2 separate regions of the Homo sapiens genome follow, and region 1 is linked to region 2. Evidence: promoter capture Hi-C in 16 types of primary human blood cells and fetal thymus (Javierre and others, 2016). All regions are on one chromosome and are shown on one strand. Each heading gives the region's core, a stretch centred on a gene start or on the middle of the fragment in contact. The rest is flanking DNA. Distances are from core to core; before and after follow the strand shown. Region 1 overlaps LINC02613 (long intergenic non-protein coding RNA 2613). Region 2 holds the start of RMDN2-AS1 (RMDN2 antisense RNA 1).

Region 1 (2,700 bases), core at 114-2,613, 470 kb after region 2:
TTCCTTTTGCCCTTGCTATTTGCTCTGTCTATAATTTCAATCTCTATTTCCTAACAGTCACCCCCACTCTGCCTCAACCCCTACACAGAGCACCTGGCTAAGTCCTGTTCCTTCAGGTCTCAGTTGAGATGTCATTTCCCCAGGAAGCTTTCCCCAGCTCTCAGGTTTAGGTCTCCTGGGGTCTCCAGTAGGTGCCATTGTACCTTGCTCTTACCTGTCCTAGCCCTTATCTCATCCAAAAGTCATCATCCATTCTCTTGTCTATCTTCTGCTCTGAGCTTTCAACACTGAGAACAAGGTATGAATCTTTTTCCATGTTTCCCCCCAAGTACATTGTACGGTTCAATAAATATTTTCTGAATAAGATTTAAAAAATAAAATAACACTTCGTTTCATTCAACCTCTTTGGAAGCCAGATCTGATCTAGTTGCTTGTGTTCAATGCCAGCCCCAGGTCTTGCTCTTTATTGATGCTTATTACCTGTTGCTGGCTTGATGGGAGGGTGTGGTGACAGTCAATAGATGCATTCCAGGGGGAAAGGAGGGGGCAGTAAACAGTTCAGGGCTTCTCAGTTGGTCCCAGATCAGGAAGACAACTGAGGACAAGGCCCTGGCAGAGAGGCCTGGAAGATTTTCCAAAACTGGGATCCAGAAGAGAGGTTTCCCCTCTCAGGTCACATAGGCAAGGCTGGACTCTGCTGTCTGTAATTTCATCACTGGCCAGAGCAGGATTTCTGAGATGTAATAAGAATTCCAGGACAGCACACATGAGGCAGCAGGTGGCTGGCAGCCTTATGCTAGATGAAGCCTGGGTGGCGAGGCAGTTCCCCAGCAGGGACACACACTAGGGGGGCCCACATTCCTTCCTGCTCCACCCGCCGTAACCCACCTCCCCTTCCCCCTTCTCATCTGTATTTCTGAATGCCAGGCCCACTCAGGCCAGACATTTAAGACAGCACCACCAAACTTCTAGCACCTTCAACAGTTGTCAAGACTGATGAGAAAAAAAAGAAAGAAAGAAAGAAAAGAAAATAAATTGTTAGCAAACGACTCTTCCCCATCTGTTTTGATAGATGAAGGATTGACAAGATCATAGTTTGTCTCCTTCAGGAGTTAGTGTGGCCAATACAAATCATATCAAAAGTACTTGTTAATTTAGTTTCTGTAGACTAGAAGATAAACAAGTATCTCTTTCTCTCTCTTCCTCTCTTTTTACTTTAAAAAAAAATTTAAAAAATATTATAGGACTTTCACAGCCAAAGTCAACTTTTCACTTCCTTTTCAAAAATTTCCTGGAAATTTTTGTTTTGGTTTCTTTTCACAGTTATGTGATATTTACTTATTTGTTTTTCTCTTAGTGAATATTTAGGTTGTTCTGGGTTTTTTCTTCTTTCACATAATTCTATAATATATTCTTCTGCATATCTTATGTACACATGGGAGAATCTCTTAAGTGGAATTGATGGTTAAGTACTTCCACATCTTTACTAGATAAGTAATTACTAAATTACTATCCAAAATGGTTGCATCAATTTATACTTCCGCCCACAGTGTACATGTTGCTCTGTATCTTCTCAAATACTTTGGCAAATGGTTGTTTTTTTACCAATCTTAGAGATATAAAATGGTACCTTGCTTTGCTTTAATTTACATTTCCCCGGCTACTACTGAGATTGGCATCTTTTCATGTATTTATTGGCCTTTTAGATTTCATCTTCTGTGAATTGTCTGTTCATATCTTTTGCCTAATTTCTTATTGAGCCATTTATCTTTTTCTAATCAATATACAGTTTGGATTGTATATAAATTTGTCTATATGATTTGAATCCTATAGAATGCATATGATTCCAAATCATATACATTCTGAATAATAGTCCTTTTTTTGTTTTGTAGAGATGAGGTGTTGCTATTTGGCCCAGGCTGGTCTCAAACTCCTGGCCTTAAGCAATCCTCCCACCTCAGCCTCCCAAAGCTCTAGGATTACGGCGTGAGCCACCATGCCCAGCTTGGATACTAGTCTTTTGTTCTTTATAGGCTATATTAATTCAAGTCTTCCAAGAAGCAGAAATCAAAACAAAATTGGAAGTGCAAGACAATAATGGGGGGTAATACCTGCGCAGGATAATGGGGAAAAGAGCAGGCATGGTTGGGGAGAGTTTTCAGACCCCAGTGCAGGTCTTTATGCCTGTGAAAGGGAAGAAGAGGAAAGAGAATTGGGTGGGAAAAGCCTCCATCTGCAGGGCAGCTCTGAGAAAGTCAGCCAGGCTAATGGGGAGCCTCAGAAGAAAGTTTGCCTTTTAAAGAAGTCCCACACTGAGCAGGAATGACTCAACTCTGGTACTCCCTCCGTACTCAGACATTGGCTAGGATCGGTCAGAGCTAGCAGAGCCTCTGCTAGAACACAGTGGTGGATCCTGAAGATGAGGCAACTCCAGGCTGTCAGCCAATCACACCTCATAAGTGTGTCTCTGTTGAAAGGAGCCGAACAGCACACTCCCCTGACTGCCACATTGCAAATATCTTTTCCCAGTTTGTGTTTGTCTGTTTTTTATTTTACTTTATGGCATATTTTGAGGAAAAGAAGCTTTACCTTTTTTTGTTTGTTTGTTTGTTTGAGACAGGGTCTCTGTCACCCAGGCTGGAGTGCAGTGGCATGATTACAGATCACTGCTGCCTCAACCTCCCTGGCTCAAGCAATCCT
Region 2 (2,700 bases), core at 170-2,669:
TTATGCTGAAGTAAGGACAGGAAAAATGACACTGTCACTACTATTATTGAATATTGTTCTAGAGATACTAGCTCTAATTAGGAAAGACAAACAAATTAGAATATTTGAAAGTAATACATTAACAGAATATGGTAAGTATCATTTATGTTGGCAAATAAATTCACGTGTGAAAAACCTGAAAGAACGAACTACAAAACATTCTTCAACAATAAAAGAATAAATATATAGAAATCAGTAGCCATGACAAATACAGATGGCAGCCAGTTAGAAGGTGTACTGGAAGGTAATGCCTCATTTACCCTGAGTAAAACAAGATCAAATATCTAGGAATAAATATAAGAATCATGTCTGATAGGCAAGCAGAAATTGAAGGAACCCCAAAAGTTTGAACAAATAAAAAGACACACTATATTTTGATTAGGAAGACAGCATCCTAAAATTATCCAATATCCTTCAATTAATCTACAAATTTGATAAAATTCCAATACAAATACCAACAAGATTCTTTTTATGTTCTGAGGTTCAAATGGAAAATCAAACAAGTAAGAGTAGTTGTGAAAATACTGAAGAAGTCAAGCAATGAGGGGCAACAATACCTACCAGATAAGAAAAAATGCATAAAGCTATCATACTCAAAGAAATATGAATGAATAGACAAATCAGTGAAATAGAATATAAAGTCCATAAATACATCCTAATACACATAAAAATGTATATGATAAAAGAGGCATGTAAAATGAGTTATTCAATAAATGAGTCCCTGGAAGATAAGGAGGGTGGGAAACAGATAGGATAGGCTATGAATTATTAAGCAACTGGTTTATATCTAGTTTAACCAGCAAGATGCAGGAGCATCTTCAACTTAGTTTTCTCATAGCACCATGATGTCCACAAATCCACTTACAAGCAATAGTTCTGTCTTTCCCAATGTTACATTCCAAGCATTCACAACCGTATCTGGACACAGAAACTCTACCATGGTACCAAACAGTAATTACTCTGCAGAGGTAATAGGTGCACACACTATTTAGGTCTGAATACCACAGCAGGGAAAGGTATGCCAGCTAGGAAGGAAATAAAATCTCAGGAAAAACGAGGGCAAGTAGAAAAAAAAAAAGATAAGAGGAACTAAATAGCCTCGCTGGGCACATACTCATGGGAACCCTGCTGATGTTGCCCAACTTGAAGATAAAGAGATGCCTATGATATAGAATCATGAAGATCTCACCTCAGAGAGATCCGTGATATGTCACCCAGGAGCATCCGTCACCTGCCGGAGCACTGTACCAGGAAACCAGAGGCATGGTTCTGTGTAATCTCGAGCAAGCTAAGTGGCCATGATGAGAATGCTTCTTCCTACTGTGCCCAGCTACAGGATTTATGTAAGAATGACACGAAATGACAGATGTGAGTACACTTTGCAGCTCTGATCAGTGGTATCCTAATAAAGAAGAATTGTTAGCTTTGAGTTGAGCCTTGTTTGTAACAGGCACTCACTTCACTGTTGTTGCCTTTTATGTTCCGGAGTCCTGCATGATATGGACTCCAGGATAGCAAGAGTCCACATACCCCTCCCCAAGAGAAATTAAGCTGGGAGCCATGGAATTATCATCATCTCCTTGCCACCCTGTCCAACTGCAGGTCGTGGGAAGCTGAATTTACCCTGTGAGACTTCTGCTTCATTTACATTCATCTTGGCAGGCAGTGGTGGGTCGTGGGGAACCTGTTGAAAGCATGACAGCAATGAAGGCTTTCTTACATGCTGAACTCACATCAAAGCTCTTTTCTTCTGTGCTGACACATGTAACTCTTTACCAGTCTGATGATAACACATACAGAGACAGACCCTCGGATTCCTGCTGGGGAGAAAACAGAGCCAGAGATATGCTGTACTGAGCTGGCAAATACAGTGTTCTTTCTGTTAAAATCTGATGGGAAAGTAACTAGGCAAAAATCCATGGTGCTGGCTACGGTACAAAGATGACCAAGGCTGTCTCAGGTATCCTGGTGGCTTTATTGTCTATTTCCGGGAAAAGAGTAGGTAGGGATCAAGAGCAAAGAACATGGGAAAATGTGCTGCTTTGTCATTGCAGTTCATTTATTTCCTAGAAATTTTGGCTTCTAGGGAAAGGCAGCGTGATATAAAAAAGAAAAAGGTACTGGACTCAACCTGATTTAAATCCAGACCTGACACTTTGCTACCTGGATGAACTTGGGTAAGTGACCTAAGCTCTCTAAGCTTCAGTTTCCTCATCTGTAAAATGAGGATGAAATTTTCTATGCAAGATTTTGTAAGGAAGATCAAATAAATGGACATAAAGCAATTGACACATAAATATGGAAACGATTTCTCAGCTTTCCTCCCTGAGGGACAGAGACTCTTCAGGCTACTTAAATTCTCCCCAGACTTTTCCAAGTTGCTCTTTATCCTCATACCCTGGCCACACCACAAAAGCTGCCCACATAGAAGAACTTGGTGAAGACTTGCTGACTATTCCCCTAAATTCTGCTTGTTTAATAAACATCTGCAGAGACAGGCTCAGCAATGGGCTCATTGTGGAGAATCCCAGAAGTGTGTGGCAACACCAAAGGAATTTTATGAAAGTCCCAGGAGAGAGAAACTGTCGTTCAAGTCATCACATAGCAAACTGCCCCTAACACGTGCTGCACACACATTAGGTGGTGACTCAGTTTTGGTGT

What was found. The method cuts DNA at HindIII sites, captures the fragments that hold promoters and counts their contacts. A CHiCAGO score of 5 or more calls a contact.
Region 1: a fragment that was not itself captured here is called in contact with the fragment with the promoter of RMDN2-AS1 in region 2 in 2 of 17 cell types (M2 macrophages and M1 macrophages); the score reaches 5.3 in M2 macrophages.

The regions. Positions count from the first base shown.
Region 1 is chr2:38,503,601-38,506,300 of GRCh38, forward strand. All of the region lies in intron 1 of LINC02613 (long intergenic non-protein coding RNA 2613), which reads right to left. Among named protein-coding and RNA genes, the nearest start is that of LINC02613, 11 kb to the right of the region's middle. The HindIII fragment of the contact is 2,436 bases long and covers 146-2,581 here.
Region 2 is chr2:38,034,922-38,037,621 of GRCh38, forward strand. RMDN2-AS1 (RMDN2 antisense RNA 1) reads right to left here and starts at 1,420. Exons shown (of 4, transcript NR_102712.1): 1 at 1,229-1,420. It also overlaps a transcript of RMDN2 not described here. The HindIII fragment of the contact is 2,287 bases long and covers 1-2,237 here.